Linked DNA regions of Homo sapiens: all the other regions are linked to region 4. The links are contacts of gene promoters, found by promoter capture Hi-C in blood cells and fetal thymus (Javierre and others, 2016). All regions are on one chromosome and are shown on one strand. The core of a region is centred on a gene start or on the middle of the fragment in contact, and the rest is flanking DNA. Distances in the headings are between cores, read along the strand shown. Region 1 has its middle 190 kb from the start of SNX7-DT. Region 2 has its middle 130 kb from the start of DPYD-AS1. Region 3 overlaps DPYD (dihydropyrimidine dehydrogenase). Region 4 holds the start of DPYD-AS2 (DPYD antisense RNA 2).

Region 1 (2,700 bases), core at 23-2,522, 670 kb after region 4:
TGCAAAATTAGGTACTGGGAAATTTAAGACTCAATTGGATTATATGGTATGCCCAGAACGAGAGAACTGGCATATAAAATTTCTTCTATCTGCAACATTTTAGCTTTCAGTTAAAGTTTCCTTTTGGTAAATAAGCACACGCACATGCACACACACACACACACACACACACAGAGAGAGATAAGGAGGAGGAGAAGGAAGAAGAAGAAGGAGGAGGAGGAGGAGGAGGAAAGAAGAAGAAGAAGGCAGAAGAAAGCAGAGACTGTGAGATATGAAAAAAGAGAAACTAAGTATATGCAAAGTTCATCTGATCTGAATTCCCACCTTCCGCCCATGAAGAGACTGTTCAGGTGTTTAAACGTGATGTCCATGTTTTTGAAAACAAATTTGAGGATGCGAATCCCTTTTCTACTCTTTTCTGTACCTTGCCATAAATACAATGGCATGATCTGAGAGTTCTGTTTGTGAGTTGTATTGACAAAACATTGTCTAGCAAAAACTCAGCAATAAAAGTGTGTGGCATATTCTGCTGGGGTGTAGATATTCCTGTGTGCAGTGGGCTTCTCACTGAAGTATAAGGCATCTCCACTTCTCTAGCATTAGCATGTCTGGCTTAAAAAATAAAAAATAAGGTGACATGTCTGTCACTTCCCTCTGAGATATGCCACATGCCATAAAACATTTCAATCACCCCTTGTGCTTAGAGTAATTCTCTTTTAGGCTTGGCTCCTCCTCAAGATTTTTCAGGTAAACAGCATGAGATTAGTGTATGTAATCTATAGAAGGGAGCATGGATGTTTTTACTTCACTGTTCTTTTTAAATTGAAATAACAGCAAACAAGCTTAATTTAACAGTGATTTTTGAGCATTAATAGAAGAATGAGAAAGGAAGAAATCCTACAAAGGAATACTATTATTGAGGAAAATCTCAATAATCTACATGATATTTCCAAGTGGTAGATTTTATCTCAAAATGTCTATGTCTAGAAATCTGTAGTATACAGTTCCAAGTAGTCAAAGTTTCCTTATATGGCTCCATGTGTACAGGCACATCATGATTGTGTCTGTTTTTCTGTGAGTTTTCCAGGCTAAAGTTTCCCAGCTTGGCAACAATGCGGCACAGGGTCTGTTAGCTTAAGGCAATTGATTCTTCCCCTGATTTTGGCACTGCACTAGAACGGCTCTCAATCCAAAATCAAGGAGAGAAGAAAGAGAGAACTGAAAAGACAAGAAGGGAGGGAGGACGCCAGGAAGGGGAGAGAGAAAGAAAAAAATATATATATTACTGACAAAATACTACTTGATAACCAACGTTGTCAGTACAATCATTGTCACTCGATTTAAGATGGCACAATTTAAAATTCATAATGAAATCTATTTTAACTGTGAAATATATAGATTTCGAAAAGATTTTTCTTTTGCAAAAGTATGAATGCTGTGAAATACATGCTTCTTTTTTTACATTGCATTTTAACCTCTTAGGATAACTTTACCATAAATGATGTGAAGTTGTAGCTATCAGCCATATCCAATTAAAAATGCTAAGCCAGTTTCATCTAGAAAGAGAGACGCTGACAATATCTAAATATATATATATATGATAAATTAGTTATTGTCAAAGCGATCACCACTCATTATTGTGCTTATACAACAGTGTCATCTAGTGGACACTGGTCAGGCAAGTTGTAACTAAGATTCCTGAAGAAGCTTATTTAAAATGAACTATCCTTAAATGAAAATATGCTTTATCTTTTTCAATTCTCTGAAACTAAAGCAATTTAAATAATTATTTCTAGTCCAGGCCATCATTTCAATTCATATTTTACCAGAATAGTAAAGGAACTGAGAACTTGTGTCTGCAGAAAAAAATAATTTTAAGATCACATTTCTTAAGAAGGCAAAGAAGAACAAAAGAAAATAACAAAATTACTATAAAAGGTAGATGTCAGTATATGTATGGCATTAGGAAGAGAAAGTTGGAGCTGGAAGATTATTGAGCAGAGTTCCAGTCTTTAAATCTAAATGACTAGTGGCTACATCAACAATGACAAAACAAAGGAAGTATATGGGAGTTCTGTGGTCTCACCTCCACAGCTTTGCCATTTTTCTAGTACCTTTTTTGTATATTTGTGTAGAAGAGATATCTCCTTTGAAACACATTTTTTAAAAAGGCATCTTTTCTTATAAAAACATTAAATGTCATTCATTTTGAGTATTAAATTTCTGTGTCATCAAAGCCAGTTAGCTTTAATTTTTCCCCAACAAATCAAATGCTGGAGATATATAATGGGCACTGCAATCTATTTAATAATGTTGCTGATTCCCTGCATTTTTTATTGAAAAAATAAGGAAATATTGCATTCACTGGAAAGATGAAAAATAAAGCTTTTTAGCATTTCATCAAAATAAATATGGACACTCATTTTTAAAACCCCGGTATAATATCGTGTGAATTTTCTCACATCAACTAAGCAGCGATTAACACCTACAGGCCCATGCCCTTGCTTTGCATTTTGAAACTACTCAAAGGTAAAGTGTTGTTTTAGGGTTCTTTTTGTTACAGAGAAAGTGGGAGGAAAAGGAATATTAAAGCTATTAATAGGTACAAAGTTTCTGTTTTTTAAGTATCGAGTTCTAGTTGTATGTTTCAGTTTTTCTAAACAGAATGTTTTATGCCAATTTGATATCTTTGATAGTATT
Region 2 (2,700 bases), core at 28-2,527, 830 kb before region 4:
ATTTTCCTGGCATCACCATTTCTTTAAGCATAGTTAAATTATATTGTGTAGAATCTTTCATATGGTCCAATATGCAGTTATTTCTGGGACAAAGTTAGCATTTGGTAGTATTTCCTGCCAAGGAATTTTGCAAAGGAAATTGCTATGCTGTGGTATTGCATGAAGGATGTAATTTGCTGGGGTACTGAATACCTACCACAATGAATAAAAATACGTACTCACAGCAGAAAAAAAATCCTGGACTAGAAAAACCTGCCTTGTTCTTCTTCCCTCTGTGAGTCACAGTCAGGCTGGAAAGAGGACAAGTACACAGCTCTGGAGAGAAAAGTAAACGAGATCAGGTGCTCATGTCATGATTACACTCAGGTGGAAGAAAATACTTTTCGAGTCTGGAATGTTCTAGACACCCACATGTGGCTTTGTAATTAATATGGTGATTGAACACATTTATAAAATTCTGGGCAAGGAACAGAAGATAGATTAATGGAAAAACTTTCCATTAGTGTAGTCTGCTAAGAAAACCCCAGAGATTTCTCAAAGTTCTTTTTGGAATATCTCATTTGGAGGCTTACATAAGAAGAATCATAGAAAGAAAACATCGTAGTGATAAGGGGTCTTGGAAATGGTTCATTTCTAACCCTTCATTTCCTAGGCAAAGTGTATTTTCAGCATTTTAGAATCGTATCAAATGAGAGTGAACCTCTAGGTGAAAAATGGGCCAGGGAACTTGAATTTCTTTTGAGCCCTAAGTTTTCATGTTTTAATAAAAATAGATATAAAAGTACTTTCGTTGAAATAAAAGCCCTCCATAAATTCTAGAGATTTTAGTTATCTTAGCTGTTGGTTAGATGCCATAGAGTGAGACAGTAACAATAAAACCAGATCTACACTGGCTGAAAAAAGGTTGTCTTTGTCTATGGAGCCTTCCAAGGGAGGTAAAAGCAGCTTTGGCCTGCTGACTGGTCAACGGGGAGCACTTGAAAAGAGCTTAGAATTTCCAAATCGACACAAAAGCAGTATAGGTGTCACTTCAATCTCATATAACCTTAAAAAAAAACCCTTGTTCTCTTTTTGATTCTGAATGAATATGGCCTAAAAAGAGGCCATGGGAAAGCAGGATGATATTTGCATACTCACCATGAAGACTGTACTTGTAATATATTCTTAATATTGAAGTCTTTGTTTTTAGAAAGGTGAAATACACCTCTCCCTCCCCTAATACATTCCAAGCTGAAACATGGTACCAAGAGCTTCATCCTGCACAGTTTCATTATTAACAGTGCTATCATTAATGCAAATGTTGACACATTATCTGCACAACCATTTTCTAGTAAGGAAATCCACAAATAATATTTGACATCTTGTTTACATAGCAGCTACAGTGTGTATTTTTCACTCTTCTTTATATCTTTACTGCATATTGGAGCTCCACATCATTTTGGCCTAGTTCAAAATCTTTTAATATGCAAACCTGAATCAACATCAAAGGAAAAATCAGCTTCAAAATGATTTTCCACACTAATAGTCTTTTGCATCTACACCAAATATTATCACATTGATTACTATACATTTTTAAGATTCCATGGTTTCATAACGCTTTTTCTGACCATTAATATGATGTATGGACTTTCACAATATGTTTCTTGGGCATAATTTTTAAATAAGTTTTCATTTTCTTTTTTAAAATATAAACTTAATTAAATGTACATTTTTTCATCATAATCTAGGCTTTTCTAAGATCAGGGTGTTAATGATACTTCAATTATTTTAAACCATTGTTTGCAATACAATTAAGCAGACATCGTGAATCTTTAACATTAAGATTTCCTCTATATGAAGAAATTATATAACCATTGCAAAAGTGCTATCAATTCTGCAGGATTTTAATCAGAAACAATCTTTTAAGAGCCATACTTCACCATAGGATGCAAACATCTTGTCTCCTAAGAAAAGCATTGTAGAGAGGGTTTGCTAATTGATTTTTCCTTAAGAACAATCTGTTTCTTTTCCAGTTTATTATAGGAAACACTGGCATTTGTCATTTTTCCAATATTTGGAGCTTGCTGCCTTAATAAATGCACATATCAGATGATGCTCTCTCCCTGTCTGATGGGCGGATGGTGTTGGGCAGAGGAAGGTCACAATGATGCTAAATTTGCTGCTGAGCAAAGGATCAAAGTGTAAATGGAATCCAGAAAGCTGGGAAATGTAAGTGTGCCAGTGTAAATAATCTATTAATTATTGACAGCTAAGAGACTGAAAATTCCTATTTAGTCATGACATCTTTATTTTCATACTGATGGAATCATTTCTGGCATTTTTAAAATTAAAGGTTTTTTTTTTACTGTAGATATAAAATATTTCAATTTATAGTACATCTCTGCTGGTGTTTTCTTCTTCTTTTGACATTTTTGTCTGATTTCCACATATTAAAACAATATCAGATATGACAAAAGGCAAGAAGAGCTCCAAGTATGAAAAATAGAACAATGGTGTTAGGGTTGCCTATACATTAAAAAAAAAATCTGTTCCAACACAGAGGGAAAACAAACCTCCAGGTACAAAGTAAGTGATGTTTGAGAAGCTTCAGGCATGTTAGCTATTTATAGAAAGCAAGTGACATTGAAGGTGCTGACACTTATGAGACCATTTAGCAGATGTTACAGGAGTATAAGCCGTTTTTCAAACATTTTCAAATAT
Region 3 (2,700 bases), core at 120-2,619, 650 kb before region 4:
CAAACCCTGCTATGCATCACCATGAAACAAATATCAAATAAAGGATAAGTCTCAGGAAAACCCCAGAACTGGATTTCAATGCTCAGATCCTGAAAAAGTATTCTCTGATTTTAAGACATTTGCTGATTCAAGTGACTTTTTAAAGCAAAAAGACAACAAATGGGTACGCTTCCTTAATGCAGAGACATAGGCAAATGCCTTTCTTTCAGCTTTACGCAAAGATAGAAGAAGAATCTCTTACATTCTGGGCAACCATCTGGAACTCTATTAATTGGTGTATGAAGCAAGCTAAACTATAAGCTCAGATGTAACATGAAACAAATATACTCAATTAATGGAAGGTAAAATTACAGTCCCCAAATGGAAAGAACTACAAGTTCTCTGGTCATTCTACACGAAAAGTTCATTTTGACATTTCAGTTATATTAACAATCTGTTCCTGCTTTGGTGGTCTGGAAAGAATGAACAGCAATATTCATAATCTCTACTATCAACTTTGCTAAATTTTTTCCCCAAAGACCATCTTTATTACCCTGTAACTTTCACTACTTGAAGTGTTCCCATTTCTACAATAAATAGATTAAAATCAACAGAGAAAAGCTTCAAAAAGTGACAGGGTTGTTGGAATTTTTCTTGGGATTGTTATGACTCCTTCTTTATACACAGGTCATCTGAGTCATAATGAAACACCAACTATTCAGAGTCACATGCTGTGCTTTGTGCTTTTGGTTGATCAGAAAAGCAGTGAACTTGATCCCATCACTATAATCTGATGCAGCAAGGAAGAGTGATAACAATTATTCTTAGCTGATTTATTTTTTTCTTACAAATCACTTTCTTATGCACACAGAACTGCCAAAATGGCATCAGTTCTCTCACTAAATCTTGCAAATAAAACAGTATACCTTTCAACGTGGTGGCTGAGATTGTGTGATGTGGAGAAAAGGAAGATATGCAGAGATGTTAGCATGGCCACAGGGTGATGGTGGTGGTGGTGCTGGGGCAAGTGTGCACTACTAATAGGAGAAGATGTCAAAAAAAATGAAGCATAATAATAGTGCAATTTATCCTTGCTAAACGTACTGCAGTGTGCTATAATTAAATATGAAAACCTAAATTTATCTCTATGTTCGGTTGTCATTAATTTAACAGGGAGTGCACATGTTCTAATCTAATGGTTGATTTTTTTTCTCCATGTGCAGCATATTAAAATGTATATTAGCCTCAAGGTGCATAAACACAAAATAATAGACCAAAGGTTTTGGCCTGTGGAGAAAAAAAATCCATGCTCAAAGGCCGTCAAGTAGCTGTGATGCAGGGGAGACACTCACTTAGCCTCATTAAGCCAAAGCTCTCTTTTGCTTGTCTTTTGTTCTGCATGACAGCAGCCTCTTTGTTGTATAATAATTCATTCCAAGTTCGTTCCAAGCTACCGAAACTGGTGAACTGTGGCCATTTTAATGAGAAGTATTGGTGGTATGCATAATCTGGAAGCCACGTGGGCCAGACAATCACAGAGCACTGCAGCCAGCAAAATGAGATATTGTCGAAATCACAAATTTGTCAAGTTGTTTTTGGACAGGGTATTATAATAAGCACTAAAATATGCATCCTATTACTCTGCATCTGCCAGTCAAAGATCACTGTAATGAATGCGTGCTGCAGGGTATAACCAGGCCGTTTTCCTAAGTAAAACAAACCACAGAGTACAGAAAAGAATTGTGTGGGTTTTTTTTTTTTTTTTTGGCATTGTTTGACTTTTTTTTTTTTCCTAATCCTTTTGCACCAGGAGTCAGGTTCTCCTGGCATGGTGTCCACTGCTAGCAGTGAATACACAGGCCCTGCTGGTGCCAGGGAGTTAACATGAATACATTGCTTTTTTAATAGGTGTGCTTACCATCTGAGAATACAAAACCTCAAACTCAAGGCTTCAATTGAGTCTACTGAAGAATTCCTGGGAGAGAAAAGGGAAAAAGGAGGAGAAAAAAATATCTCTCCCAATGATCCTAAGCCTTATGTTTTATCCTTTTCTACTTCAAATGGCTTAGCCTTTGGGACTTGTTTTGTTGTTTGTTTTTCTGTTTGTTTATTTTTGCTTTTTTGTCTGTCTGTTGATTTATTTGCTTTTTAGATGAACCTAAAGCTTTGGGAAGAAATGGGTGAGATGCTAATCTATCCCAGTTCTATAATATTAATAGTTTGTATAAGAAAACTAATACAATGTTGACAAGTAGAGAGAGTATTTTCACTTGCCCATAAAAATGGTCCTTAGGGAGAGTGACCATATACTTTCTCATCTAAACCAGAACTCTTTTGAGAGTGAAGGGAAGATATTATCGATAATTACAGGCACAAAAAGCAAGACTGTCAGAGACAAACTGGCCTATATGATCATCCCAACCATAAGCTCTTGAATTGGCAAATGTAAAGGAAGCACACCATGTCCAAAGGCCATACAATACATCCTGTTATTCTGGGCAGTCTCTATGAAACATTCAGGGTTATTTGTTTGTTTGTTTGTCTGTTCTGTTTTCAGCCAATGGACTTTCCATAAGGTCTGGATGGAAATAAAATGATTGTTAAATCTAAGAATACGGAGAATACTCTTCCATTCTTTTCTAGCCATTTTTTAAACCTTACGGAACCTTTTTTGTGTGTGTGATCAGGAGGCATGATGTGAGACAGAGACATATAAAAGTA
Region 4 (2,700 bases), core at 10-2,509:
TTTAAAAAATAATGGACATACTATACACACTCCTATATTATTTTATATTTCAATGCTGAAATTTTAATTAACATATACATATACTCAATAAAAACAATAAAAAATATGACTCATTCTCTGGAAAATTTCATTATTAAAATTACTGTTATTTTATAATGATAACATCTCATTTTGTTGTGCCCTAGGTATAATGAAACACTCTTTTTATTATAATAAAATGCAATAAAAAGTGTTCTTCCCTGTGTTACTGCTGTTATTTTGAATTATCCTTATAAATTTTCTGATAATGAGGGTAGGCTATCATCAAAAGATGCCTCCATTAAAATATAACAATGATGGTAATAGCTTAAAACTTGTATTGTACAGCTGAAAATTCATTTGTACACATATCTCTTTTCATCCACATACCAATTCTGTTAGGTGAATATACTTAACCCCATTTTACAGATGTATCCCCATTTATATGACAATGATCATAATAGCTTAAAACTTTTATTGTACAGTTTAAAATTCACTTTCACACATATCTCTTTTAATCCACATACCAATTCTGTTAGGTAGGCATTATTATTATCCCAATTTTATAGATGTAAGTACTAAAAAGCTAAGTTGTTTTCCTTGTCCTAAGCAACACAGCTAATTAGGGAAGTTAATTTTTCTCCACTGCTTTTAATCACATTAAACTGATCCTTCTATTCAACACATGAAGTTAACATTCTATGAAAATAAAACTGGAATCTCTGAGTCTACATTGATCACAAATTGAATGTATCCTCTCAATACACTGTTTTAGTCCTTTATATCTTTGATAGAAGTGAACATCCTAATTATGCCCATGAGTTACATATATGAGATGCCTTCACCCCACTTCAATAAAACTCTTTCTTAATGCCAATATAAAAAATACTCTACATTAATTGGTAATTGTGAAAAGAGACTCAGGGAGAGAGTCTGAATCAACAAAAGAGGAAAATATAGGAAGGAAAGGGAAAGACAAAGAAGGAGGGTGAGACAGAGAAGAGAGAACAAACATCCAGGAGTAGTGATGTGAATTATTTGCTTAGTTACCACAAAAGTAATAATTACACTAACTCTGTGGGAACAATGGTAATTTCACAGTAGCTCACGTTACTGTTATCACCTTATATCCTGATAACTGTGAAATTAATTTGTGGCACTACTGTATGTGTCGGCCATAAGCTGTTCCCTTGGTAACAGTATTATGCTACCATAGAGAAGGAATGTTTGGCAGTAAAATGGGCAGCAGCAAGCTGATTACACAGGGAAAAGCTTCTATCTAAATACACATAGCATAACAATCACCCCTGGAAAAACTACATGGCTTACCAAAAGAGGTCTCTCTGTTCACTGTCCATTATCTGTTGACTGAACTAGTTCAAATGAATAACAAGTAATGATCAAATTGCCAGTTTATATTTTACAACAGAGTCTTATCTTTAAAAAAATGCAAGGAGGAAATACAAAAATGTAATACATTTATCTTGCTTTCTTTTCTATTTCCTCCCCTGAAATTATTACTATGCTATTGGAAGCCATACAAACACATATATACACAAATATACATATGCTTCAATGAAAAGCAGGCATGCAGCTGACAGCTCGGCAACCCTGAGGTATAAACAAAGATACCAGACATATTTTTTGAAATAATTTTGCTCAAGGAAATTCATTTCAGTAGGAAGATCAGTTACTCTGCTGTCTCCTACCTACAAAGTTACAGAAGGAAAAGTTCAACATTTGGCCAAAAGGATAGTAGCTTACATTTCTTTTTTTTCCTTTTTTCAGCACAGAATTTTGAAGAGAGAATACACTAAAAGGGAAGAACATAACTACATGACATCATAAGAAGTCCTGAATTAGAAGCGTATATTTGAAAGGTCATGCATCCTGAGCTGCCAACAGCTTAACAACCAGAGGCAGAGGCCAGCTTTGCCAGCTCACTGCTTCTACTCATCTTTCATGATAGTAGCCAGGCTGAATATAGTTCCAGGATGATAATGAATTGGCTGGGCATACTGTTTATATTAGTATGTATGTTCCTGTACTAAACCAAGCATCATGAGGCCAGCACTATTTTGCCATTTTTCAGAAAAAAAATATGAACCCTTCAAAACATAGTAAGCCTTTTTTAAAGTATATATTTGATTTTGAAATAATCAAAATATATGTAGGGATATGACTGCATCCTAAGATTTATGATAAGTTCTGATGAGTAATATTTTCTTTCTACATGCAAGGCAAAGTTAATAGTAACTAGAAAGTCTTTATTTGGCATATCATAGATTTCTGTCAACCAAAACAACTAACTCTGGGGAACATAACGTTCTGACAACTTCAGAAGAGTTAAGTCACAGACAAAAGTTTATTGGATCTTAGTTGGCTCCTACCCACCAATTCTTTCTTTTCCAAGTGGAACATAATAGATTTTCAATATTTGTTAAATAATTGAAAAAATATCCTCAAAATTCTTTTTTGGCCATCTTCCCAACAAGAATATGGTCCTAACCTATATGTAGAGTCCTTTGCTGTGTCATCTATTTCTTCAGAATTATTCTCCTAATTCATATGTCTGGATAGTCTCTCTGAATTGTTATAGAAAATTAAAAATGTGAACTATGAAATTAATTTTTAAACTTTTATAACCATCTAGTCATACACAGAATAACCACAAATATAAAC

What was found. Contacts are between HindIII fragments. The CHiCAGO score rates a contact against its expected background, and 5 or more counts as called.
Region 1: a fragment that was not itself captured here is called in contact with the fragment with the promoter of DPYD-AS2 in region 4 in 5 of 17 cell types (endothelial precursors, M2 macrophages, M0 macrophages and 2 more); the score reaches 9.4 in endothelial precursors.
Region 2: a fragment that was not itself captured here is called in contact with the fragment with the promoter of DPYD-AS2 in region 4 in 1 of 17 cell types (megakaryocytes); the score reaches 5.2 in megakaryocytes.
Region 3: a contact is called between a fragment that was not itself captured here and the fragment with the promoter of DPYD-AS2 in region 4, in 1 of 17 cell types (endothelial precursors). The highest score is 7.4, in endothelial precursors.

The regions. Positions count from the first base shown.
Region 1 is chr1:98,466,656-98,469,355 of GRCh38, forward strand. No RefSeq gene overlaps it. Among named protein-coding and RNA genes, the nearest start is that of SNX7-DT, 190 kb to the right of the region's middle. The HindIII fragment of the contact is 865 bases long and covers 841-1,705 here.
Region 2 is chr1:96,962,788-96,965,487 of GRCh38, forward strand. No RefSeq gene overlaps it. Among named protein-coding and RNA genes, the nearest start is that of DPYD-AS1, 130 kb to the right of the region's middle. The HindIII fragment of the contact is 2,609 bases long and covers 1-2,582 here.
Region 3 is chr1:97,144,016-97,146,715 of GRCh38, forward strand. The region is part of intron 20 of DPYD (dihydropyrimidine dehydrogenase); the gene reads right to left. The region is part of intron 1 of DPYD-AS1 (DPYD antisense RNA 1); the gene reads left to right. Among named protein-coding and RNA genes, the nearest start is that of DPYD-AS1, 49 kb to the left of the region's middle. RefSeq lists an enhancer at 920-2,170. The HindIII fragment of the contact is 1,543 bases long and covers 599-2,141 here.
Region 4 is chr1:97,795,662-97,798,361 of GRCh38, forward strand. It overlaps DPYD-AS2 (DPYD antisense RNA 2), which reads left to right and starts at 1,260. Exons shown (of 3, transcript NR_046591.1): 1 at 1,260-1,411; 2 at 1,554-1,634; 3 at 1,807-2,390. The region is part of intron 3 of DPYD (dihydropyrimidine dehydrogenase); the gene reads right to left. The HindIII fragment of the contact is 2,382 bases long and covers 1-1,288 here.